5 separate regions of the Homo sapiens genome follow, and regions 1, 2, 4 and 5 are each linked to region 3. The links are contacts of gene promoters, found by promoter capture Hi-C in blood cells and fetal thymus (Javierre and others, 2016). All regions are on one chromosome and are shown on one strand. The core of a region is centred on a gene start or on the middle of the fragment in contact, and the rest is flanking DNA. Distances in the headings are between cores, read along the strand shown. Region 1 overlaps AKNAD1 (AKNA domain containing 1). Region 2 holds the start of LAMTOR5 (late endosomal/lysosomal adaptor, MAPK and MTOR activator 5). Region 3 holds the start of CYB561D1 (cytochrome b561 family member D1). Region 4 overlaps STRIP1 (striatin interacting protein 1). Region 5 overlaps AHCYL1 (adenosylhomocysteinase like 1).

Region 1 (5,185 bases), core at 1,126-3,625, 660 kb before region 3:
ATCCTGTAAACTTTTAGTGCATTTCCAATAGATAGGGAAAGTTTTGGTAAAGTTGAAACGTTAAATTTTGTTATATTAGAGCCTGGAACAGTGTAGGAGGGGCTTGTCATCCTCTACACAGAGCTCTCCTCTGCCTGCCTGTTTGAGAGCTTTTCTACAAGAAATTGCACCCCAGCACAATTTGGCCTGATAAGAAAATGTATACAAGACAGGCCAGGCGCGGTGGCTCACGCCTGTAATCCCAGCACTTTGGGAGGCTGAGGCGGGCGGATCACGAGGTCAGGAGATCGAGACCATCCTGGCTAACACGGTGAAACCCTGTCTCTACTAAAAGTACAAAAAATTAGCTGGGCGCCGTAGTGGGTGCCTGTAGTCCCAGCTACTCGGGAGGCTGAGGCAGGAGAATGGCGGGAACCCGGGAGGCGGAGCTTGCAGTGAGCCGAGATCGCGCCACTGCACTCCAGCCTGGGTGACAGAGCGAGACTCCTACTCAAAAAAAAAAAAAAGAAAATGTATACAAGACATGAAAAATAAATGTTTTGTTCTGCCGAGGTTAATATCTAATCATCACATACACATTCACAAAACACATTTGAAGTATGGAATTATAAAATTTGGAGTTTTCCTCATGCATCAAAATCCATTCCAGGCTGGGTATGGTGGCTCATGCCTGTAATCCCAGCACTTTGGGAGGCCAAGGAGGGTGGATGGCTTGAGACTAGGAGTTCAAGGTCAGCCAGGGCAACATGGCAAAACCTCATCTCAAAAACAAACAAACAAACAAACAAACAAACAAACAGTTCCTACCAGGGGAAGAAACTATGCTATACGTCAGTAATGGGTCACGTAGCTTTGGTCCTGGAAGTACAAGCTGATTACATCCAACAACTCCAGCAAAGTGGGCTTTGCCGGGTGTCTGTGGGACTAAAGGCTGAGGGAGCACGTGAAGGTGATTTTAGTTGCACATGGCCACCAGGTGGCGTCAGAAAGAAGCAACTGCAATGGACATTGTTCAGGAGCCTTCCTGTGGCCCACCTGCAGCTTCCTCCCTCCTCCTCAGAAATCCCAACTCCTCCAAAGGAATTCGAATTAATAACAGTTCTGAACAAAGCTCTTGCTAAGCTCCTGGGATACAGTCATAGCCCCCAGGGAAAGTTGTTCATTCTTAGTATGGAAGGCACTGTGCCCGAGATATCCTGGCATAAATGAGGCAGATTGCCCAGGGCTAGGGTTTGAGCCCAAGGCATTGCTGGGCAAACACATGCTCGCCGCGCTGTGCCCTGGCCTGCTGTTGGCGGAGAAGGGATGGGGCTGCGGGTTTGTGGGGCTGGGGCTGAGAAGCCAGGCTCTTTCCCTCCTCTTGGAAAAACATGCTGTCCTCTTGAGTCACATATTTTCTCACACCTCATTTTCTGTCTCCACCCTTCTCCTCTGGGGCATTTGAACATCTGCTCTCCAAAGTGGGAAACTTGGATCTCACTCAAGTGCATGCAGTCCAACACAGGACTTTTTCTGCTTTTAAACTCCTTTGTGTACTCAAATCTTCTGGCCAAACATAATTCCTCTGGAGAAGACAGTTTTTCAACAAGACAAAGCAGCTAAAGTACACACTTAAATCCAAAGTTTTGCATCAGAAATAACATAAAGGGATAAGCATATTTTACATTTTATACATATGTAATTTATCCACTTATATATAAACAATTTACAAATATCCTGAAAACAGTATGTACCTCAGCAAGCTTCATAAAGGACAAGTCCCATCAGAGAGAGATTTAATCTTCTAACAGAAAGAATATATAGTCCTCCCTTCAATCAATAATTCCTCAGGGATTATGTAAGTTACAAGATTTTAATTCATAAGTCATGTGTATCTTCTCATCACTCCCCAGCAGTGGATTCACTGTGAGATTTGATTTTACACTTGGTTGTGCTTGTCTTTCCAGCTTGTCTATCATAAAAAAGTATTATTTAGTCTGGAACATTGGTCCCTGTCTTGGTACTTAATGTACTTCTGTAGGGTCTAGACTAGGAATTTAGAAGAGAGAAATTTAGTACCTTGAGTGCTTAATAAAAATGGTTCTTTAATGTCAAAATACTTTCATTATACTTAGTAAAACCTTTAAAAATCCAAAATTAGACTTTAATTCAATAAATAAAAATAGTAGGCCTGGGATGACTCAGTGAGTAAGCTTCATGAGTGCCCCTTGGATTAAAGGGCAGCTCAAAGCTGATGACTGACATGGTGGTTTAATGACCCACACACAATGACACATGACCATTTTTAGCACGAGCTTCATGCAGTTTCTTTTTTCAGGGGTGGACACTCATTAGAACTCTTAAGGCAGGTGCCCATTCCCACAATGGAATGCTTTCTAACAGGAAGCCTCAGTCTTTCAGACCCTGTCATCTGCTTCTATTAGAATCCATTACGTACATATAACAGTGGTTGCTAAACACCTGCTGCCTCCCTGACTCTTGACCTTCCAAAGGTCAATGAGCCGAGCTTTGGCCGGAGTCCACAGTGAGCTTAGAGGTAACATCTCTCGCTACCTGAAAGAAGCTTCAAATAAATGATACTGAATCGACACAGATTAATAGTTGCACCAATGGGTGTTTCAAAAACAAAGGATTTCTCCTGAGGATTTTACATGATTTACAGCTTGTTAGCTCTGGAAGATTTCGTCCTTAGGAATGGGAAGAAATCAGCCCTGAGAAGAGGGATGAGGCTTGTTCCTGGGACTGGGGGGCTCAGGTGAAACCCAACAGAGAAGACTTTTGCTCATCATAAGGAGAGAGTAGGGATGGTGGGAGCTGTTTGTTATACAGGATAAGAATCCCCCATGTGGGCAATGATCAAAAGCCTACAGGACCACCCTCCGTGGGCTGTAACCATGATTCTTAACCAAGGGGGCTTATCGGAATCACCTGGGGAGATTTAAAAGCAATATTCCTACCAGAGCCCCACCGCTGGCGATGCTGAGACAGTAGGTGGGATGGAGGCATGTGCATGATTGTAAAATCTCCCATGGTGATTTTGATGGTCTCCCCAGTTGAGGACCACTGCTAGAGGATCTGTAGGGTGCGAGGGAGGCTGGGCTCTGTGCCCAGGCCTGAGATCTGTGACTCTATAACTCAGCCAGTGGCCTCAGTTAGTTGCCGCCCACTCTCACTGGAGTTACTATGCCAGGACTGACTCCAATCCACCCTGGGAATGTAGCCACAAGAAGCCCTCACCATTCAAGGAGCCTGCGACAGAAGGCACAGCTCGGACTGGGTGCCGTCATCTCTGCACAATCCTGCCTTCTTGGAGTGCCGTTGGGATCCTCCTGCGCCACAAAGCACACAGATGGAGATGTGATAGAGGATGTGACTCACGCCGCGGCTGCACACGCACAGCCCAGCAAGCAGCTGAGGTCCGGCTGAACTTGCCACCTCAGGCAGAGAGACTCGCCAAACCTCTCCTCCAGTTGGGGAAAGGGAGGCGCAGGGGGACAGGAGGGAAAGAAGAAAGAGCCCATCCTTAGTTCTGATGTGTCACTCAGTCGGGGCTGCGCCTCTAATGGCCTGGGCTGAAGAATGGAAGTTTCCACCCTGGCTTGCTTCCTTCCTCCTCTAAACAGATTTTAAAATCTGGTGTACAGATGACAGAATACTCTCCCCTTTTTATCTTTCCCTTAGTTTCAAATTACTCCAAGCTTCGCCAGATAATGAACAGATTTAGGAACATAATTTTTAGATCTATTAATCTGACCGCTGGCTAGTAGAGCTCTAAAAGCCTTTCTAAATAAATATATTCAACTATGAATTAAAACAGGGTTTAGGGACTGTCTGGGGGCCTAAATGATTGGTTATATGTCCCTCTTTAACACAAAACAATTACTCCACTGACCTGTGAGGGCTGTTACCACCCACTGTGTATTTTTGACTAAGGTCTTACCCTTTATGTAAGTAAAAAATAAATGTACTTTTCCCATCATTATAAACAATGGCAGAAGCATCATTGTACACATAGCTTTTTCCACATCTTGGATTACTTCCTGAGGAAATGTCTGGGCCAAAGGTTGCGAACATGTTTGTGTGATGACCCATATTGCCAAATTGCTTTCCACAAAAGTTGTACAGATTTCACAGCCACCAACAGTGTGGACGGCTCAGTTTGACCACACCTTCCTCTGCATCAGGAATTATCACTTGAAAATGTTTCTGTTAATTGAAGGGAGGGGTGTGTCACCTTTTGTGTTAATTTGCATTTCCTCTGTGACTAAAGGAAATAAGTCTGTTCCTATATGCTGATTTATTGGTTGTATTTCCTACCTGTGACTTTTTTTTTTTTTTTTGAGACGGAGTCTCACTCTGTTGCCCAGGCTGGAGTGCAGTGGCCTAATCTCAGCTCCCGGGTTCAAGCAATTCTTCTGGCTCAGCCCCCCAAGTAGCTGGGATTACAGGTGCCCACCACTACCCCCAGCTAATTTTTTGTATTTTTAGTGGAGACAGTTTCACCATGTTGGCCGGGCTGGTCTTGAGCTCCTGACCTCATGATTCGCCCACCTCGGCCTCCCAAAGTACTGGGATTACTTTAATTGTGAGTAATTGTGTGAGCCACTGCGCCCGGCCTTACTTGTGACTTTTTAGCTCATGTCCTTTGTCCATTAATTTTCTTGGAGGGTTTCAGTGTTTTCCTGTTACCATTTGCTAGTTGTTCATGATGTGCCAGGTGCTTCCCTTATAGTCTCCTTAATACTTCCAACCATCCTGGCACGTTGTCGCCATTTTAATGGTGAGTGATCTGAGGCCTGGCGGATTTAAGCAATTTGGCAAGGTTGCATCATGAGTAAGTGGGAAAGCTGGGATTTTAACTTTTACCTATCTGACTGGTATGCTGTGTTCTTTTTTTTTTTTTTTTTTTTTTGAGATGGAGTTTCTCTGTGTTGCCCAGGCTGGAGTGCAGTGGCGCAATCTTGGCTCACTGCAACCTCCACCTCCCTCCCAATTTCAAGTGATTCTCCCACCTCAGCCTCCCTTCCAAGTAGCTGGGACTACAGGAACACACCACCCCACCCAGCTAATTTTGGTATGTCTTAGTAGAAACAGAGTTTCACCATGTTGGTCAGGCTGGTCTCGAACTCCTGACCTCAAGTGATCCACCCGCCTTGGCCTACCAAAGTGCTGGGATTACAGGCGC
Region 2 (5,241 bases), core at 2,215-4,714, 910 kb after region 3:
GTGTACTTTACAATATATTTCTGTATATAAAGGCAACACAAAGTTAACTGTACCTGAAACCAAATCAGGTAATAGACATGCCACTATGGCAGAGCATTTGGATGTACTATTACTATACAAAACATTTTGACCAGATCCGATGCCGACGTTTGAGCCTTGAAGGTTTCTTGAAGGAACTCATTTAGTTTTAGATTTCCATACCTGAATTTCAGTCTTTCCATTAGTAAGCCTAGCAAATGCTTCCAAAAATTTACCCTTTTTCTCCCAAATGACTGATCTGCATGTTAAACATAACTGAGTTACACCGATTACCTCTTTCAGTTACCCTTCCAGCAAAAATTCAGAGCTTTAAACATTCCTGCATTAGGAGCAACAAGTCTTGGGTTTACTAGTTGTCACTAATTAACTGAATGCTTTACTTATTTACCTTTCCAAACTTATTTCCTCATGTGTAATTGCTACCATTTATTAAGTATTATGTCTCAGTTCTATGTAAGCATTTTATACATATTATATAACCTTAAAATATCGTGATTAGGCCGGGTGTAGTGGCTCATTCCTGTAATCCCGCACTTTGGGAGGCGGAGGTGGGTGGATCACCTGAGATAAGGAGTTCGAGACCAGCCTGGCCAACATAGTGAAACCCTGTATCTACTAAAAATACAAAAATTATCTGGGCGTGGTGGCAGGCGCCTGTAATCCCAGCTACTCAGGAGGCTGAGGCAGGAGAATTGCCTGAACCTGGGAAATGGAGGTTGCAGTGAGCCAAGATCGTGCCACTGCACTCTAGCCTGGGCGACAGAGCAAGATTTCGTCTCAAAAAAAAAAAAAAAAAAGTGATTAAGAGGCCTCAGGGCCAGACAAAAATCCTAGCTTAACGACTTACTAGCTGCATGACCTCAGGCAAGTTATTTAACCTCTGTGTCTCAGTTTCTTTTTTTATTTTTTGAGACAGAGTCTCGCTCTTGTCATCCAGGCTGGAGTGCAATGGTGCAATCTCGGCTTACTGCAACCTCTGCCTCCCAGGTTCAAGCGATTCTCCTGCCTCAGCCTCCCGAGTAGCTGGGATTACTAGCACCTGCTACCATGCCTGGCTAATTTTTTTTTGCATTTTTAGTAGAGATGTGGTTTCACCATGTTGGCCAGGCTAGTCTCGAACTCCTGACCTCAGGTGATCCACCCGCCTCCGCCTCCCAAAGTGCTGGGATCACAGGTGTGAGCCACCGCATCCGGCCTCTTTTTTTAAATTTTAAAAACATATATATATGTTTATTGTAAAAATAGAGATGGGGGGTCTCACTGTGTTGCACAGGCTGGTCTTGAACTCCTGGGCTCAAGTGATCTGCCCACCTTGGTCTCCCAAAGTGCTGGGATTACAGGCGTGAGACACTGCACCTGGTCCCTCAATTTCTTTTTCTACCTCACTGGGTTGTTATGAGGAATAAAAGAGTATATGTAAAGCACTTACAATGGTGCTTGGCACATAACAGCTCAATAAATATAATTCTATGATTATTACCATTATCAAATAACAACCCAGTGAAGAAAATGAGGGCCTAAAAGGTAGTTTTTTGGTCCACGTTCACACTACTAACAAATGAAAGAGCAAGGGATTGAGACCAGGTATGTCCAACACTGAAATCCCATTTTACTGCCTATTCACTTCTTGTTTAGTGTAGTTGAGCTTCAAAATTGTACACCACCCACCTTGCCGGGTTGTTGTGAAAATTAAAGATAATGTATTTAGAGCCTAGCAGTCTCAGCATATGGCATACATTCAATAAATGGTTAACAGCTGTTATTATCTGAAGTCCTTTCTAGACTCAATTTAAAATGATTCAAATATTATTTTTAGTAGAGACAACTATTTATTGTTATAGGACTGCAAGGAACATCTTCCTTCATAAATACCAACTGAAAAGTTTCAATTTTCTGATACTGTTATTTGGAGATAATCTCTACTCTCAAACTCAGAAAGACCTGGCAAGGTAACAGGAAATAAAAGCTAGAAAATAATAGCACGCTAGGCTCCAAGTCAACATCAGATGCTATGCAATTCATCAAATAGTTGGTATGAGAGATACTTACAACCCAGATTAAGTCCTTGTGAATCTGTGCACAGGACTCCAACAATGGAGGGATTCTTCATTCTAATTCCAGGAACACAAGAGAGTTGAAGTACATAATGGGAGAAAAAGGATTTAAATAAGTACAAACATACAGGTGTTCTATGTACCAGGCATTAAGTGCTTTAAATCAATATTTCTCAATCTTTTTTCATTGTCACACCCTAAGAAAAAAATTAAGTTCTAGGGCCGGGCGCGGTTGCTCACGCCTGTAATCCCAGCACTTTGGGAGGCCCAGGTGGGCGGATCACCTGAGGTCGGGAGTTCAAGACCAGCCTGACCAACATGGAGAAACCCCGTCTCTACTAAAAATACAAAATTAGCCAGGCGTGGTGGCGCATGACTGTAATCCCAGCTACTCGGGAGGCTGAGGCAAGAGAATCGCTTGAACCTGGGAGGCGGAGGTTGCAGTGAGCCGAGATCACGCCATTGCACTCCAGCCTGGAAGACGAGCGAAATTCCGTCTCAAAAAAAGAACACAAAAAATTTAAGTTCTAGTTAATTAATTGAAATAAACCAGTTTCTCTCTGATGAGAGAAAAAAATGTGCTAAGTACTGCTGAGTTCTGGAGGGCCACAAACACTGCGTGAAAAACATCTAGGATGTTTTCACTCTTGTTAAAAACGCATGTTTTAGTACTAACTCATTTAAAACAACTGTTGAAAAACTCAAGTTACCTCCTGGAGGGTAAGTGGAAGCTGAGGGACATCGGTGGGAGGCAGGTGTCTCTCTGTACCCTTTACACTTTTCCAGTTTTGAATTTTACATAGATACTGCTTGTTCGAAAAATTTAAAGAATGATTTTTATCTACTTAAGCACCAAGTAACTGATAGGTTACACACAGGAGATACGTGTTTGTTTACACTGCAGGGCTCGACACTGCACAACTGGCACAATCTTCCCAAAAGTCAACCCGTTTTCTAAAACTTCCGCAGAACCACCCTGACCGTAAAGACGATTTCAACAACGAGATAGGCAGTTTTGGCCCGTGGCCTGGGCCCGGGAGACTCGCTCAAGAGGGAATGTGCGGTGCCCGGCAGGATTTTAATTCCGGGTCACCCGCCCCGCCCTGCGGCCTTGGGTAGAGTTTAGCCCCCTCATCCCGTGTCCCGGGGGTCGCGCGACGTCCCCGAGACGCCCTGGCCGGTACTCGCAGCTCGCGCCTTTCGTTCCGCTCAAGTTCCTCCGCCGCGACCTCAGGACAGGCCGAAGAGGCGCGCACTACTCACGTGTCTTCCAAGTGCTGCTCCAAGGTCGCCTCCATCCCACCCACCGACCACTCCGGCTCAGAACCCAGCGGCACGGCACGTCCTTCTCCACCACAGGCCTCAGTCACTTGACGCGAGCGGGGCGTGGACCGTAACGGCGCCTCCAAAGGGACAAAATTGATCACGGTGCAACGTCCGCGTTCTTTACTGGAAAACATCACTGCGCTTCCGTCGCACAGAGCCTGACGAAGGCTTGGGCTCCCCGCGCGGTGACCGTCGAGGTGACCTGCACCTGGCTCCATGGCGGAACCGGCCGGCACGGATTATTCCCCTCTCGGGAGAGGTCTGCAGCCGGGCCTCAGTGCTTCAGTTCGTGGCCTGGCATTTTGTGTCAGTGTTTTTTAACCTTTGGACCCTAGTTCAACCGACTCCGAGACCTAGGGGACAGATCTTAAGTTTTACAATAACCCAGGGGTCAGACAGGGTCTGATCTAGCCTGTGGGGCAAGTACGGGGAAGACACGGGACCTCTTGGAGGGGGTCAGTAGGCTTGTAGGGGGAAAGACGCACACAGAGACTAAAGGACGAGATGGAGCAAGGTTCAACCCCCTAGCTGAGTGTTGGCAGTGTCGGGATTTTAACGAAGACATTGGTGCTTATTATGGTGAGGGGACTCAGGACAGTTTAGGGGAAGAGAGTGGCATTTGAGTCCTAACTCGTAAGGAAGACTGGGTAGGACTACTTGAAAATAACTTTTAAAAATTAATTATAAAGCTGGTAAAAATAGGAAAACATCTATGGCCCCACTGTCCAAAGACGACTTTTAACTTCTTGGAGAATATCCTTTCAGATAGTTGTCTTTGTAAATGTATACTTTTAATGTTTTTTCGTTTGCCTTTTTAAAATAAATTTTTTGGGGGACAGGGTCTTGCTCTGTTACCCAGGCTGTAGTGCAGTAGAACGATTATAGCTCATTGCAACCCGGACGTCCTGGGTTCAAGCTATCCTCACCTCTCAGCCTCTCGACTGGCTAGGACCACAGCCTCGAGCCATCATGTCTGGCTAATTTTTACGTTTTTTTGTAGAGATGGGGGTCTCGCTGTGTTGTCCAGGCTGGTCTTAAACTCCTTGCTTCAACAGATCCTCCCACTCCAGCCTCCCAAAATGTGATTACAGGCTGAGTCACCACGCCTAGCATGGTTTTTTTTGTTTTGTTTGTTTTGTAAGCAAAATTGACATACATACTGGAGGTACAATTCTGTAGCTGGCCTTCTTTACAGAGTTTAGAATAAATGTCTTTCCATGTCAAGTTTTCACTTACATCCTTTGTAGTAGTTGCAAAATATTCCATTTTATAGCTGTATCTTAATTGTGGATTAAGGTTGGAGTGCAGTGGCACTATCATGGCTTAGTCCAGCCTCAGCCTTCTAGGTTCAAGCGATCTTCCCACCTCAGCCTCCCAAGAAGCTGGGACTACAGGGACCCGCCACCCCACCTAGCTAATTAAAAAAAAAATTGTAGAGATGGAGTCTCAGTGTGTAGCCCAGTCTCAAGTGACCCTCCCTCGTTGGCTTCCCAAAGCGCTGAGATTGCAGGTGAGCCACTGTACTTGGACTTTTTTTTTTTTTTTTGCTTTTGTTTGTTTTTTGTTTTAGCTATTACAATGCTGGTTGAATATCCTCATAGCTAAATATCTGTGCAGTTTTAAAATTTCCTTATAAGTTACTAGAAATGGAATGACTGGGTTAAAGGACATGATCATTTTTTAAGACTCTTGATACATACTTACAAATTGCCTCCCGAAAAAGTGGTGCTAATTTACTCAAATTGGTAAGCCTCACCCCCTCTGTGGATCATTCCTTGCACTAAGTTTCTTCCAACTCTGTCACCTCCAGCTTTTTACTCAC
Region 3 (5,371 bases), core at 2,859-5,358:
GGGACCCAGGCCTGTTCCCCTTCCCCATGCCCCGGGGTGGGACCCAGGCCTCCAGCGAAGAGAGTGAGGAGGAGGGGACATCTGACGACCTCCACCCACCCCCTGACTGCCATTATGCAACCCGGCCCCCACGGCCACAGGCGGTAAGGACCTGGAATAGGGGCCTATGGAGGGGGTGGCCCAGCACTCCTGGCCAACAACATGGGGAGGAGGCCAGATCCTGTGTGCAGATGCTGTCTGTGCACCCCAGACCCTGCCAACCATGCACCTTCCTTCTGCCTTTAGTTCTGCACCTTTGGGAGCCGGCTGGTGAGCCCAGGATGCTATGTGTTTAGCCGCCGGCTGGACCGGTTCTGCTCAGCACTCAGCTCCATGCTGGAACGGCACCTCAGCACACACATGTGGAAGTAAGTCTCTCGGACCCAGAATGGAAGTTCTAGAATGGAAATTCCTAGGTTCCAGACATACTTGGGCTTCAGAAGCCCTGATCTTTCCTGTATACCCATAGGTGTGCCTTGGCTATTTGCCAGCAGGACCCCAGATAGGGAGTAGCATGAAAAGGAGGTGGGAAAACTTGGCAGCCTAGAGTTTGGCTAAGGCAGGGCATGGAAGGGTGGTCTGGGGGTGAATCTAGACTTTCATCCATCACTTCCAGTACCTTTTGGGTAACTAGGGATAGGGGATGCCCAAACCAAGATTTAAAATGAAGTTCCTAGTGGGCTGCCTCCTAGTTAGTAGGTACTAGCTAATTCCTCTCCACAGGCACCCCTGTGTCTTCTTCCTAACCCTCAGTTCCAGCATCTCCCAGCAGATGGCAGCAACTCTGGGGCTCTGCTGACCATTTCTAGGTGGGGCAGAGAGACTGGAGTGTGTCTTGTGTTGGGGGAAGCTGTCTTGTTTCTTGGCAGTCACAGTGGGGCTTTCTTTTTGCTGCAGGAAGATCCCACCGGCAGCTGAACCTCCAGCTCACCTTGTCAACTCCCCGTTATCTGCTCCCCTGAGCCCATCCTCTACAGGCACCTGCCCCCGCCTTCCAGGTCCAACCCTGAGACCTGCCTGCCCAGCCTCCATGCCCCCCACCAAGGACAACCTTGTCCCCAGCTACCCTGCAGGCTCCCCCAGCGTGGCGGCTGCCTGTAGCCAGGCAGAGTGCATGGGCGGGAGCCAGGCTATCACCTCACCACTGCCTGCCAACACGCCATCCCCGTCCTTCAGCAAGCTGCCGCCTTCCAAGGCCAGCAAGTCATCCAAAGGCAAGGACGGGGTGGAGGTGGAGGCCCCTTCTCGAAAGCGGAAGTTATCCCCTGGCCCTACCACTCTTAAACGGACCTGCATCCTGGAGCCCACTGGAAAAGGGAAACCCTCTGGCTGTAGGGGCCTCTCGGCCAAAACTAAAACAGCCCTGAGCATGGGGCTTAATGGGACAATGGGGCCAAGAGTGAAGCGGGCAGGGCCCCTGGACTGTCGTGGCTCCCCTCATCAGCTCCCCACACCAGTCAAGGCTTCTCAGCTGGAGAACCGGGGAGCAGCTGGACACCCAGCCAAGGCCCTGCCAACCAACTGCCTCTCTGAGGAGGAGGTGGCCAAGAAGCGGAAAAACCTGGCCACTTATTGCCGGCCAGTGAAGGCCAAGCACTGTCAGGCTGGTGCCCCTGCTGATGTGGCCTGCTCTGTGCGCCGCAAGAAGCCAGGCCCGGCCCTGGCCTTTGAGGAGAAGTGCTCTACACTGAAGGTACCAGCCAGGCTCCCTGAAGATTGATGAGGGTGGGGCACACAGGGGGTACCTGATACAGAGAAGATGCTACATTGGTGTTTGTGCAGGGAAAGGGAGGAAGGGGAAGTTGAGAGAGTTCCTGGACTGTTTTCTTTAGGAAGAGGTAGGTCAGTTCTTAGCAAAGTGACTCCAGCTTTTTGCCTGGTGAACCTTCCCCTATCCCTAACCCTTTCCCTTGGGCTGAGGAGATGCGGCACCCCTCCACCCCTGCTTTTGCTATAATCAAAGGGCTACTTCTTTCTGAATTGGCTGTGACCCTCATTCCAGGTACTGGAGCTACCTCTGTTCCCTGAAGGAAAGGGAGTTTGAGTCCCTGGGTCACAGCCTAACATGCCGAGCAGCAAGGTGGGTGGGCTGGTCTCACTGGTTTTTCCTCTGGGCATCAGGGCCTTGAAGGGCAGGCACACAACCCCATGTCCACTTATGCACATGTGCCCACCTCCAGGTGTGCAGGTGACAGGCAAGTTCTCCAGGGTTTCCAGTAAAGCCTGCAGCCAGTTTTATTTGCCTCTTCTGGTGGGAGCCCTGGTGTAGTGTGCTATGTGCTCTCCATATGATCTCTGCCAGGAGGGACTTACTGGAGGTGGGACGGGGGTGCTCTCCTGGGTTAGATGTGGGCCTAATCATAAACCCTGTGTGTTCTCCAGCTTCACTACCCAGGCTGCCCCTGGTGAGCTGGCATTCATCTTCCCCCTTGCTCAGTTTTACTCACCAGGCCAGCAGAAGGAAATCAAGCTTTAGCCTCTGTAGTGCACACAGTTCACTGGGTAGGACAGCTGGTAGGCCCCCACCCTGACCCTTTCTCTCGCCTCTTGTCTTCCTGCAGTCAAAAGCCCATTAACGAGAAAGTGCCTGCCCACTGCAACGGAGCCGCCAGCACCTCCTCCCCTCCAGATCCGGGCCCCAGGCTGCTGCCGCTTTTTATAACTTTATATTATTTTTTTTTAAGAAAAAAAGCTCTTTAAAATACCTCAAGACTGTCTCCCTGTTCTGTTGCTGCTATGAAAATATAAAAACAGAAACATAGAAAAGGAAGGAAAAAAAATAACAAAATGAGTGTCCTTACTGTCCCCAGCCCTACCCTGGGAGGCTGAGATGATAGGCAGCCAGACTCCAGCTCCCATAGCTTGCCTGCAAAAGTCTCTTATGCTCATTATTATTATTATTGTCATCTTGTCATTTTCAATAGTGTGAAAAATGTTTGTGTCACTGGGGTAGTCTTTCCAGACAGGATGATGAGGCGTGTGGCTCTGAATGAGTAAGGCTTCCTGAGTCTTGACACCAGAGACGACTATGGTCCCATTGGGAAGAGAAACTCGAGAGGGGGAGCTGCACTTCTGGCTCTTTCTAGGATCCTTGCCCCGAGGGTCTGGGAATTGGCTTGTGACCCTTTTCTGGTCCTTCAGCAACCCTAGGCATCCATCCCTCCCTGAATTATTGCCTGCTTTTCTTCAGCTGTTCCTGCAGCCTCATTTTCTCAGCCACTTAGGGAGCTTGAGCTGGGTTGGTCATTGCTGTTGGGATATTCCTGTTTTCTATTGGACAGCCTTCCTTCCCTGCCTGTGGGTTTGCCTTTAAGGAAGGGGTAGAACCTTTCCCAGGGAGGCCTCCTTGGGTTGAACCACCCCTTTTTTGGAGGCAGGAAGGGAAAAGGCATCATCACTTGCAGAACTGGTGGTGTGGGAGGCCACAGGAGTGTGGGAGGCCTTGGTCCTTCAGGATCACCTGGCTCCTCAGGGCTGAGCAGCTGCTGAGGAGGCGGCAGGGCTGGGAGTGCCCTAGTTTTTCCATTTATCTCGCTGGGGACCACTCCCGTGCAGATGCGAGAGGAGACTTGCATTTCCCTCCTTTGGTCCACCAGGTTCAAGGCACTATATTTTGGCGATGTCCTTTCCTATTCTCCTTGCTCTTAGGCATGGAGGAAGCTTGTTCCCTGAACAAGACAAAATGAGGTGACAGGAGACAGTGCACAGCCAGGGAAATCCAGTACTACTAGAAATCGGCTCCAAACACTTGTTTCACAGTCTTGGTTCAGCGTACCAAGTGTGTGATTTGGGGTTTCACTGAAATCGTTTGCCACAAAAGTAATTTCCACAGGCTGCTTGGGATTTAGGCCCTTGTAGACAGACACACAGATACAAATGAAGGTGGGCTGGGAACTGTTCGGTCCCCTTCTGCCTCCGGGCTCTCGCGGGAGCGGGCCTCTCCGGGGCACTCGCGTTTCCCCCCCAGCCCCCAGAGGGCGCTGTGGGCCACTCCGCCGCACTGCCGGCGGCGTCCCCGGGGAGGAGCCTCTCCTGCAGCCGCCACCGCCTCCGCGATCGCAAACCCGGAAGACGTGTTCGGGCAGCTGGAGTGTACGGGCCCGCGGGCCACGGCCATGCAGCCCCTGGAGGTAGGTCTGGTTCCCGCTCCAGCTGGGGAGCCGAGACTGACCCGCTGGCTGCGGAGAGGCAGTGGGATCTTGGCGCACCTGGTAGCTTTGGGCTTCACCATCTTTCTGACAGCGCTGTCCCGGCCAGGAACCAGTGAGTGTGCGGGGCGGGGTTGCGGAAGGGGGCGGAGTGGAGATGCTGGAGGGGCAGCGCTTGGGAGCCCCGGGAGACTTGGAGGAGGGACCCCAGCAGTAAAGGGGAGACAGAAACAGTGGAGGGATTTTGAGGGCCTGGTGGGGCGGGGCCCCAGGGATCCTGGAATAATGGGGTTTTGGGTGCTGTGGGGGAAGGGCAGACGATTGAACAGACCGAACTACTTCCTCAGAAACAGGTCCCCTGATGGAGGATAGAAGTGAAGGAGGCCGGGCGCGGTGGGTCATGCCTGAAATCCCAGCACTTTGGGAGGCCGACGCGGGTGGATCACTTGAGGTCAGGAGTTCGAGACCAGCCTGGCCAACATGGTGAAACCCCGTCTCTACTAAGAATACAAAAATTAGCCAGGCGTGATGGCGCGCGCCTGTAGTTCCAGCTACTTGGGAGGCTGAGGGAGGAGAATCGCTTGAACCCGGGAGGTGGAGGCTGCAGTGAGCCGAGATTGCACCACTGCACTCCACCCTGTGCGACAGAGCGAGACTCCGTATCAAAAAAAAAACAAAAAACAACAACCAAAAAAAACAAAAAACAAAAAAGGGGCAGAGGACTGGGCTGCCAGCTGAGAGGTGCTGAACGGGGAACCCGGGCCAAACTGTTGTATGTGTGTGGATAAGGAGGCCCTCTTGGTTGCTCACCCTGGGGCTCCTTGGCTGCTCCACTTTGTCCTTAGTTCCTGTGCCCGATTAGGATTGGGGATGGTACTTTTCTCCTGTGGCTAGATTCTTTGGGTTCCACCTAGCTACAGGGGCAGGAACAATGGTACCAAGCCCTCAGCCTGTTCTCTTTGATTCTTAGGTCTTTTCTCCTGGCACCCTGTATTCATGGCCTTGGCGGTGAGTTTAGGCTTCTATCTGATTTGTTTGGGTATTCCTCACCTCATTCTCCCAGGGAAGCACCCAGCTTTCAGAAAGCTCAGCCTTTCTAAGGCTAAGACAGGTGGAGGAAACATCTAGGGCTCATCTTTCCCTGCAGCCTATGGGATTGGGAAACCTGGAGGGCTGGGCCATAG
Region 4 (4,956 bases), core at 1,392-3,891, 540 kb after region 3:
CCTGGCATGGTGGGATGACGGACATCAGTGTTAACTACTCAGTTTTTCAAGTGGAAGATTACGAAAGTGCAGGGGGGTGAACCTACCTTCATCATGAGAGGAGTTATCATTTTGAAAAATGGTTTAAAATTTTCCAGAGTAGCTACGAATGGTCAAATAGATACCCTCTGACGAATTGTAATTTCTCTTTGTACCCTTTAATTTCCACATAGAGGCCGGGTGCAGTGGCTCACGCCTGTAATCCCAGCACTTGGGGAGGCCGAGGCGGGCGGATCACCTGAGGTCAGGAGTTCCTGTCCAGCCTGGCCAATGTGATCAAACCCTGTCTCTACTAAAAATACAAAAATTAGCCGGGCGTGGTGGCTGGTGCCTGTAATCCCAGCTACTCAGGAGCCTGAGACAGGAGAATTGCTTGAACCTGGGAGGTGGAGATTTGCAGTGAGCCGAGATTGCACCATTGCACTCCAGCCTGGGTGACAAGAGCGAAACTCTCCCCGTCTCAAAAAAAAAAATTTCCTCATAGACTCATTACATGAAAGACCAGTCAAATGGACACATTTAAGCAGAGACCTGTCTAAATCCATTTCTTTATAGAGAGTCTGATGCCATGATCTTTCTTTAGTCATAGCTGAAATCGGTAGTTTGGGAGCCTGATCAGTGAATGCCTGGAGGACAGGGAGGCTCACATTTGATGAGAGCCCACTATGTACTACATAATTTTGATTAGTCCTTAAAAATCTTCAAAGTAGATTTTCATCATTGCCATTCAATGAATGAAGAAACCGAAGCTCAGTAACTTGTGAAAGTGTACACTGTGTTATCTCTGAACACAACGTGGAGTTCTTGTTTGTGGGTATGTTTTTTGTTTTGTTTTGTTTTGTTTTGAGACAGAGTCTCTGTCTGTCTCCCAAGCTGGAGTGTAGTGGCGCGATCTTGGCTCACTGCAACCTCCACTTCCGGGGCTCAAGCGATTCTCCTGCCTTAGCCTCCCGAGTAGCTGGGACTACAGGCACGCCCCACCATGTAAAAATATATTTTTAAAAAATTTTATATTTTTATTAGAGACGGGGTTTTACCATGTTGGCCAGGCTGGTTTCAAAGTCCTGACCTCAAATGACCCGCCCACCTCGGCCTCCCAAAGTGCTGGGATTATAGGCATGAGCCACCTCGCCTGGCCATTGTGGGTATGTTGTGTCATTTTGTGGCTGGTCTTTGTCTTCCCAGGTAGACTGTAATTAAACCTAAGGACTTTACCTATTTGTTTCTCACTTCTCTCTTCCCAGTACAAGGCTTCCAAGATGGTGTGTTCTCAGTAATCACCTATTTCCAGCAGGAAAAAGATTGTCTTTGTCACATTTTCTCTTATGTGTGGGAGGGAAGTTGATCTGTTTGGCGGCTGCCTTCTTTGTCAGTTCTCACTGAAATTTGAGACAAAGGTGGGAAAGCTGAGGGTTTCAATACTCATTTTTGTCCTGAGCTGTTGACAGTCCACTAGCCAGAAAGAAGTTAAGACTTCTGGAATCATAGCATCATATGGAATGGTCATTTACTGCACAAAATACATAGAAACCTTGTATTTATTCATTTAACAAATATGTGTGTATAGACCATTCATTCATTCACTTATTCATGCCAGGTACCATGCTGGACCTTGTGAAATCATTGGTAAGTTAAATGGATGATGTTCTTGTTCTCAGGGAACTTACAGTCTTGTGGAAAGGCAGACAGTAAACACATCCTATAATGATAAGTTATGATAAATGCTCTGAAGGAAAAGTATAGGATACTCTGAGAGGTTTTAGGAAACAAAATGTGAAAAAACATAAAAAAGTGGAGGCAGTGGTGTCCTGTAACACAACAGCATCTCGAAGCATGAGTTTCTTTGATAAATAGAATGATCCTTTTTCCTAAAGCTCTCTCCTCTTGTCAGCAGGGCTATTCGGAGTCACCAGACCTGGAGTTTGAGTATGCTGACACAGACAAGTGGGCTGCAGAGCTCTCGGGTAACGCACAGACCTTTGTGTTATTTGGGGGTGGTTTTTTCCTTATTGGTCTTTAATAAAATTAATAATGAATATCATTTAGGGCTTCATTGCTTTCCCTAGTTCTATCAAATATATATATATATATATATATATATATATATATATATATATGTATAAAACATGTTATTTGATTCAAGCCTTGTGTATCTTATAACTTTGTGTTGTCCTTTACTTTTATGAAGCTGGCTAGAGCCCAGTCCCATTGTGAGACAGTGATGTTCCTTGGCTATCCACTGTGACCCTGACAGTGGTCTCTCCTCCAGCAATGGGTCATGAGGGATGCCTGCATCTGTGCCCATCTGCTGCTGCCACTGCCACTCTCATGTAATGCGAGGTCGGTGTGAGCTGCTTCTCCAGCCTCTACAATACACATCCTGCTCAAGAGGTAGCAGCCATTTGAGAGATGCATCCCAGGTGGCCGTCAGCCCTGGCATGGCATGGTGGGATGGATGCACATCGGACTGGAAGTGTCCAGATGGCATTCTGGCACTCTGGTTGTCTCTATTGTGCACATCAGAGCACTAAGATCCCCTTCATAATTAGAGAGCTTATTCCAGGAGTCACTATGACTCAGGGGCAGAGTTGAGAGTGGAAGCAAATGCCTTGCCTTCTCTGCACTTGTGAGACCTGGTGTGCAATGCAGACATGGAACCAATGGTGACGAGACTTTGTTCTGACAGAGCTTTACAGCTACACGGAAGGGCCAGAATTCCTGATGAATCGAAAATGCTTTGAGGAGGACTTCCGGATCCATGGTGAGATGATTTCCCACACTTCTTGCTTCCTTTGCCCTGCATAACGAGAGCTGCAGGTTTCTTTTAGGCATCTGAATGACCTGAGTCATCCTGGAACAGCCTGAGAAGCCTGCTGAACCCTGATGGTTCAAAGCCAGATACATGTAGAGTGGGCTTGTGGCACATCGGTGGGGGCTTTTCAGAATGTGCATATTAGGGGAGAAAAAAAAATCATGTGATTAAAATTGCACCCAAAATACCAGCGTTTCAGTTTGGAATCAAATTCATAGAGCAGCAGTATGATCTTACCACTTACATAGGGTGTAACTTATCTTTCTGGTCCTATGGCAGTCCTGAATTTGGTGAGTTAACATGGGTCCATGCCATTGTGAGGATTTTTCTAGGCTCAGGTGTAACTGGTTTCTTGCCCTGCAGTGACAGACAAGAAGTGGACTGAGCTGGATACCAACCAGCACCGGACCCATGCCATGAGGCTCCTGGATGGCTTGGAAGTCACTGCCAGGGAGAAGAGACTCAAGGTGGCTCGAGCAATTCTCTATGTTGCTCAAGGTATTGAGTGGACCTCCCCAGGGTTCCCTGGCACCTCTGCCCACTCAGATGCAGGGAGGGGCTCAGTGAGTTGAACCCTGCATTGCAGGCACGTTTGGGGAGTGCAGCTCGGAGGCAGAGGTGCAGTCCTGGATGCGCTACAACATCTTTCTCCTCCTGGAGGTGGGCACGTTCAATGCTTTGGTGGAGCTTCTGAACATGGAAATAGAGTGAGCATTTTTGAGAGGCTGAGTAGGGAAGGGGAGGCTGGGATGGGAAGGGGGACAGAGCTTGCAGAACTAACTGGCTTTGAGAGGGTTAAATGGGGCAGAAGTTCTGGTCCCAGGCTGTGTTCTGACCACCTGGGTTGAATAACGGAGTTGGTCACTTACACCTTGAAGATTAATGGAGACTAATGACAGGTCCCTGCAGCTCCCTGATGCCAGAGTTTTTACACCAGACAGTGCAGGCCCTGCCCAGGCCTGGGGTGCTCCTCAGAAGGAGACTCTTCACTTTGAGCTCTCTTTTGAACCTGCAGACACTGCTGTGTTCGCCCTGCAGTTTCCGCCTTGGCAGGAGGCCAGGCACAAGACTGACATATGGGCTCAACCAGTGCCTGGCCTTGCCTGTGTCACCTTTGTCCAGTGGACAGGTCAGCTGCTGCTCATCTAAGGATAACACCATCAATGATAAAGCTAAGACAGCTCATTGAGTGCCTGTGTGTCCCGGGCATTGTTCTCAGAATATTACATGTGCTAATTCATGTTAAGGATATAGGTACTACTGTCATCCCCATTTTACAGATGAGGAAACTAAGGCGCAGTTAGAGCCAGGATTCAAACCGTGGCAGTCCAGTGCATGGCTGGGTTTTTTGTTTTTGTTTTTGTGTTTTTTTTGTTTTTGTTTTTGTTTTTGAGAGAGAGTCTTGTTCTGTTGCCCAGGCTGGAGTGATATGGCGTGAACTTGGCTCATTGCAACCTCCACCTCCCGGCTTCAAGCTATTCTCCTGCCTCAGCCTTCTGAGTAGCTGGGTTTACAGGTGCCTGCCACCACACCCAGCTAATTTTTGTATTTTTAGTAGAGATGGGGTTTCGCCATGTTGGCCAGGCTGGTCTCAAACTCTTGACCTCAGGTGATCCACCCGCCTCGGCCTCCCGAAGTACTGGGATTACAGGCATGAGCCACCATGCCCAGCCATGGTCTGGTTTCTTAACCACCGTGTCCTGTGGCCTCTTGTGCAGTCCAAGCACGTATCACAGCATTTTGTTTCCCCATTGGTCAGTACTTGTCAGGGACATCACTTATCTTCCTTCTTGGAGGAAGATGCTGACTCTCAAAATCTCCTGCAGCAACAGTGCCGCCTGCAGCAGTGCTGTGAGGAAGCCTGCCATCTCCCTGGCTGACAGCACAGACCTCAGGTGAGGCGAGCAGCAAGCCTGGGCTCCTGAGCGTTAGTCAGAGATGAGATCAGAGCAGGGTGTGGGAGGCTGTCTGTGGGTGTCATTGCTGTGTGTGCTTCTGTACACATCATCTGCATGTGTGATGGGCTCAGTGTGAATGATTAGTAGGAACTGCTGAGGGCTCGTCCTAGGTGGGACTCTGGGTTGAGACTCCCAAAGGCAATCCAG
Region 5 (5,527 bases), core at 1,071-3,570, 530 kb after region 3:
CCTAAGAAAATGGGTGAGTGAAAAACAGTGGAAATCTATGCAGACAGCTGCATAGTTTGGTAAAATGACTGCCATGAAAGGCATTGGATTTAGAGTCAGAGTTCCAATTCCTGTTCCTGTGCTTACTGGTTGTTTGACCTCAGGACAAGTTCTAATCTCTATGATCCTCAGTTTCTTGATTGGTAAAATGAAAATAATACTACATACATTGTAGAATTGTGTGAGAATCACAGCTAATGAGTAACAGTGCTTAACACAATGGTTTAGGGAGATGTTCTTACTCTAAGTAGCCTTATGAAGTTCAGTAAACTTCCCAGTGCAGCTGAGTACATACAGCCTTGGAACAAAATGAGAGAAACAAACACAGGTTTTATTGTCCATTTTCTGTGAGGATATGCAAACCATCCAATCTCTTGTAAGCAACCCATGCTGTGTTCATGTGACATAATACATCATCTCTAGTCCTTTGCCTTTCTGCACGGTGTACCCATCTCCCATATCTCCTTGGCTAGCCCAAATCCCTGACTTCTTAATGCTAAAATACTTCTTGCTCTCCTCTCCTCCAATAGCTTACTTCAGACTTTTTTTTCAGTGTATAATTATAAAAGGGAAGCTTATCTATGGAAAAGTAAAAATTCTGTGCCGACTACCTTAGAAATTCATGATCCTAAGATCCATGGATCTTATCCTAAATGAGTGTTATTGACACAGGGTCTTTCTAGCTTACTGGTGTCCACTTTGATTGCTAATTTGACTATAATCTAGTTAAGGAGGTTGCTGCAGGAAGGTAGGAGTAGCATGTGACATGTGGGCCACTGCAGGGAAGCCCCCTGCTTTGCCAGAGAAGGATAGAGAGGTAAAAGCCCACTCCCTTTTGTTACCCTGGTAAGTGGCTTTTCTGAACGCACTGTACATGTGCTGAGAGAAGCATCCTGCCCAGAAAGGCAGCTTTGAGGTTTTTTTTTTAATTAAGCAAATATTTCAAGTTGTGGATTCTTTCAGAGTTATTCCATCCCTTGTCTGCTTTCTTAAAAAAGCTTCAAATGAAAATGGGAAGTTATAACTTGAGAGACATTTTGAAAAGGAGTCTGCTCTCCTGCCACTTTGCTCTTCCTAGATGAATACGTTGCCAGCTTGCATCTGCCATCATTTGATGCCCACCTTACAGAGCTGACAGATGACCAAGCAAAATATCTGGGACTCAACAAAAATGGGCCATTCAAACCTAATTATTACAGGTAACCTGGGGAGAAGCAAGTGAAAAGCTCTTTTTCCCAGTATTAAACCAAGCAGGCTAGCCTGCTTCTGACATAAAGATCAAATGTTGTACCTGATTTTGAAGAATACAAGAAATCTGTTCCAGGCCAGGCACGGTGGCTCACGCCTGTAATCCCAGCACTTTGAGAGGCCTAGGCGGATGGATCACTTGAGGTCAGGAGTTCAAGACCAGCCTGGCCAACATGGCGAAACCCTATCTCTTAGCCGGGTGTGGTGGCGGGCACCTGTCATCCCAGTTACTCAGGTGGCTGAGGCACGAGAATCACTTGAACCTGGGAGGCGGAGGTTGCAGTGAGCTGGGATCATGCCACTGCACTCCAGCCTGGGTGATGGAGTGAGACTCTGTCTTAAAAACAAACAAACAAACAAAAAAACTGTTCCAGTTAACAAGGTAGATAGAGAAATTGTGGGAGATATCAGGGAGTTAGGGTTTTTTTGAAATTTTGGAGCCTGGGCCTCACCCTAAGAGATTCTGATATATTTGGTCTGCGATGGGACCAAATTTACAAAACATTATTTTGTAAAACCTCCCCAGATTATTGTAATGTTTAGTCAGGGTTGAAAAAACACTGACTCATTCCTGGGAACAGGCGGTAACACCAGAAATGGCATTGTCAGAGACCCTGTGGAAGAATAAGGGAGACTGGTGCCCTGGGGAATGACTGCAGGGATCCCACCCAGGCTGGGGAGGGGCCCTGGAGAAGGTGCTCTGTTTCCGATTGTTTTTTGGAATTCTCATATGGAAGACATAAGTGTTAACCAATCACTCTCTCTCTTTACAGATACTAATGGACCATACTACCAAGGACCAGTCCACCTGAACCACACACTCTAAAGAAATATTTTTTAAGATAACTTTTATTTTCTTCTTACTCCTTTCCTCTTGATTTTTTTCCTATAATTTCATTCTTGTTTTTTCATCTCATTATCCAAGTTCTGCAGACCACACAGGAACTTGCTTCATGGCTCTTTAGATGAAATAGAAGTTCAGGGTTCCTCACTCTAGTCACTAAAGAAGGATTTTACTCTCCCAGCCCAGAAAGGTGATTCTTTCTTTACCATTTCTGGGGACTTTAGTCTTAATTAGGTACCTTATTAACAGGAAATGCTAAGGTACCTTCTCTGTGGAACAATCTGCAATGTCTAAATCGCCTTAAAAGAGCCCATTTCTTAGCTGCTGAAATCAGTGCTCTTTCACTTCTTCAGAGAAGCAGGGATGGTACCTACCCGGCAGGTAGGTTAGATGTGGGTGGTGCATGTTAATTTCCCTTAGAAGTTCCAAGCCCTGTTTCCTGCGTAAAGGTGGTATGTCCAGTTCAGAGATGTGTATAATGAGCATGGCTTGTTAAGATCAGGAGGCCCACTTGGATTTATAGTATAGCCCTTCCTCCACTCCCACCAGACTTGCTCATTTTTCGAGTTTTTAACTAGACTACACTCTATTGAGTTTAATTTTGTCCTCTAGGATTTATTTCTGTTGTCCAAAAAAAAAAAAAAAGAAAAGAAAAATTAAGGAGAATTTTTGGTGTTAATGCTGAGGAATTGCTTGAGTGGTTAGTTGTTACCAATTTCTCTTTTGAACCTTTGGAGCTAAGGATGCTGAGTCTAGAGAAATGCTAGTCTCAAGCCCTGTTAAGTCCCTCTGTTTCTAGCCCGTAGTTCATAGCATCAGTGAACTGGAGCCACAACAGCAAATTCTATCAGCTGTGTACCATACAGCTTGTGCTGAAGGCGAATTTCTTGAGCCATTACTCAGTATAAAGCACTGAGTTCTATCTTTAGGATTTATCTTTAAGAGCAAATTTCTGGTCAGCTGTGCTTCTGCAACCTAAAATATTTAAAGGGAGGTAGGTGTGGGCAGGAGGAGGAATGATAAATTGGGCCAGGGCAAGAAAAATCTAGCTTCATATAATTTGTCTGGGACTATACACCCTATATAATGTTAGTTTTACAGAAGTAATATGACTTTTGATTGCTACATACCACAAAGAGTTTATGAACTGAGATCATAAAGGGCAACTGATGTGTGAAGAAAGTAGTCAGTACATCCTGGCTCATGCTCTGAAAGAATATCCAGAGAGGCTCTCTCAAAGATCAGGGAGATGTATTCCCATGCCATGCACCCTGCTTCCCAGCATTTCTGCATGGTCAAGTGAGCTTTATGCTCATGAGCTTTAAGTATATAATTATCCAGGATTTTAAATCCTCAACTTGTTCTAGCTTGTGATCCCTCAAAGTTGGGTCATACGTTAGTGCTAGATACTAGAAATTTTCACTTTTCCACTGATCAGAGAGACAGACATTAAAAACAAAAATAGAAGAAAGGAAAGCTTTCACCCTGCAGCTTCTTAGCAGGGAACAATTGTCTTGCCAAAACTTTTTTCCCTTTTCTCTCCCATTTTCTTTTACCCAATCCCTTCTTACTCCTTGCCAGTGTGACCATGCTTTCTTCTCTGTAGATGTTAACAGTTAAGGCCTATTTTCCTCGGGCACTTAACCAACCAATCAGAACACCACATCTGTTAGGGGAGGTAACCTGGCCAACAGTGTATCCATCACGTTAGCCCTGCTGGAGGGAAGGGACCCACATTCACCTGCCCTCTGACCTGCCCCTTGATCCCATATCTATTACCGTGTCCATAGGAATAATAGGTAAGGGCTCTGTCTCTGTCAAGCCATGTAACAAAGGACACTGTTAAAAAAAAAAAAAAGTCTGGCATCAGAGGGAGCATGTGGAGAGCAACTTGGGAAGAACAAGTTCATTTTGTATTGAATGATTTTTAATGAATGCAATATTAATCCTTGCAGATGAGCAATAATCATTAAAATCGATTAAAATGATAAGACCTTATTGGCAGTCCGTATGTGTCATTCTTTGTTAAACAGCAAAACTTCATTAGAACCTGTTTTCTAGGGTGTGACAAGTTATAGGTCAGTAGCATTTAATAGAGATTTGTTGAGGGCCTAATATATAGAGGCTGGATACAGGATTCTTCAAAGTAATACCTGAAGTTTTGTATGCCTGCTCTGTGCCAAGCACCGGGCCTGGGTACTTTCACTCCTAACTTCCTTCAGGAAGCAGACTTGCTGCTTAAGCCTCAGGGTTCCTCATTTGCATAGTCCTTCTAAGACCTAATTTCTGAAGAATGCCCCCAAAGTTATGTAAGCTTCAGCCTCCTCCCACACCTGTATCCATTTCTGAAGTGGTCTCAGTGTCTTTTTTTTTTTTTTTTCTCTTTATTTTTTTGAGACAAGGTCTCACTGTCACCCAGGTTGGAGTGCAGTGGCTTGATCTCAGCTCACTGCAACTTCTGCCTTCCGGGCTCAAGTGATCCTCCCACCTCAACCTCCCAAGTAGCTGGGACCACAGTGTCAGCTAATTGTTTGTATTTTTGGTAGAGATGGGGTTTCGCCATGAAATCTAGGCTGATCTCAAACTCCTGGGCTCAAGTGATCCTCCTGCCTCTGCCTCCCAAAGTGCTGGGATTACTGGCCAGTGTCTTCTGATGTAAGAAAGTATTTATCTTGGTCAGTTTCTGCTGCTCCAGCAAAATCCTGAGACTGAGTAATTTATAAAGAACAGAAATTGATATTCTCACAGTTGGAGGCTGGGAAGTCCAAGGTCAAGTCGTTGGCAGATTTGGTGTCTGAAGAGGGCTGCTGCCTGCTTCCAAGATGGTACCTCTTATGCATCCTCATATAGCAGAAGGTAGAAGGGCAAAAAGGACCTAACTATTACCTCATATATGCCAAAGTCTGTTTTAGATACTGGGGATACATCAGTTTAAATCAGATGATCTCTTCCTTTGTGGTGTTTACGTAAAATTCCAACAAGATCCAAATTCCTTCCCTTTTTCCTTTACCCACAATTTGGCCATTAGGTAAGACAGAGCAAGCTAGGGATTCATGTGGATTTGCAGCCTGTGAGTGTGGGTGGTATCCTTGTGGGAACTGGGGATGTAGCTTGGTACAAGGAGTCAGATCCCAAGTGGCGTGGGGAATGCATCTATGCAGGGGATGAATGGCAATGGCAGATTAGTTAGGGATAAGGGATTTGATCACTGTACGTGAAAATATTAAGGGTAGCGGAAGCCAGCTGTCTCATTTTGGAGGAAGGTGTTACACATTGGAAAGGGAAAACACTAGAATGAACTCTGCTGTTGGGTTTGAATAGGAGATGATAGTGTGAAGTCATAAATATCAACCTAGTTAAAGAAATACAGATGTCAATGTACGTGTGTGTGTGTGT

Evidence for each region. Contacts are between HindIII fragments. The CHiCAGO score rates a contact against its expected background, and 5 or more counts as called.
Region 1: a fragment that was not itself captured here is called in contact with the fragment with the promoter of CYB561D1 in region 3 in 1 of 17 cell types (naive CD4 T cells); the score reaches 6.1 in naive CD4 T cells.
Region 2: the fragment with the promoter of LAMTOR5 here is called in contact with the fragment with the promoter of CYB561D1 in region 3 in 2 of 17 cell types (fetal thymus and total B cells); the score reaches 6.2 in fetal thymus.
Region 4: a contact is called between a fragment that was not itself captured here and the fragment with the promoter of CYB561D1 in region 3, in 4 of 17 cell types (naive CD4 T cells, neutrophils, monocytes and 1 more). The highest score is 7.9, in naive CD4 T cells.
Region 5: a fragment that was not itself captured here is called in contact with the fragment with the promoter of CYB561D1 in region 3 in 13 of 17 cell types (non-activated CD4 T cells, erythroblasts, M1 macrophages and 10 more); the score reaches 7.5 in non-activated CD4 T cells.

The regions. Positions count from the first base shown.
Region 1 is chr1:108,827,322-108,832,506 of GRCh38, forward strand. It overlaps AKNAD1 (AKNA domain containing 1), which reads right to left. Exons shown (of 16, transcript NM_152763.5): 10 at 3,238-3,329. The region is part of intron 2 of LOC105378891 (a long non-coding RNA gene); the gene reads left to right. Among named protein-coding and RNA genes, the nearest start is that of AKNAD1, 27 kb to the right of the region's middle. The HindIII fragment of the contact is 371 bases long and covers 2,191-2,561 here.
Region 2 is chr1:110,404,230-110,409,470 of GRCh38, forward strand. It overlaps LAMTOR5 (late endosomal/lysosomal adaptor, MAPK and MTOR activator 5), which reads right to left and starts at 3,465. Exons shown (of 4, transcript NM_001382293.1): 1 at 3,357-3,465; 2 at 2,089-2,150. The coding sequence starts at 3,391. It overlaps LAMTOR5-AS1 (LAMTOR5 and SLC16A4 antisense RNA 1), which reads left to right and starts at 3,580. Exons shown (of 3, transcript NR_102697.1): 1 at 3,580-3,725. RefSeq lists an enhancer at 3,407-3,636. The HindIII fragment of the contact is 8,453 bases long and covers 1-5,241 here.
Region 3 is chr1:109,489,986-109,495,356 of GRCh38, forward strand. It overlaps CYB561D1 (cytochrome b561 family member D1), which reads left to right and starts at 4,109. Exons shown (of 3, transcript NM_182580.3): 1 at 4,109-4,302; 2 at 5,158-5,195. The coding sequence starts at 4,155. It overlaps ATXN7L2 (ataxin 7 like 2), which reads left to right. Exons shown (of 11, transcript NM_001350175.2): 8 at 1-143; 9 at 286-407; 10 at 937-1,732; 11 at 2,601-2,749. The coding sequence ends at 2,615. RefSeq lists silencers at 872-921, 3,880-4,109 and enhancers at 4,180-4,259, 4,249-4,749. The HindIII fragment of the contact is 3,360 bases long and covers 3,698-5,371 here.
Region 4 is chr1:110,035,958-110,040,913 of GRCh38, forward strand. It overlaps STRIP1 (striatin interacting protein 1), which reads left to right. Exons shown (of 21, transcript NM_033088.4): 2 at 1,934-2,003; 3 at 2,726-2,800; 4 at 3,215-3,349; 5 at 3,438-3,558; 6 at 4,678-4,746. Among named protein-coding and RNA genes, the nearest start is that of STRIP1, 3.8 kb to the left of the region's middle. The HindIII fragment of the contact is 5,545 bases long and covers 1-4,956 here.
Region 5 is chr1:110,019,614-110,025,140 of GRCh38, forward strand. AHCYL1 (adenosylhomocysteinase like 1) reads left to right here. Exons shown (of 17, transcript NM_006621.7): 15 at 1-13; 16 at 1,118-1,238; 17 at 2,061-4,129. The coding sequence ends at 2,067. Among named protein-coding and RNA genes, the nearest start is that of STRIP1, 12 kb to the right of the region's middle. The HindIII fragment of the contact is 2,571 bases long and covers 1,036-3,606 here.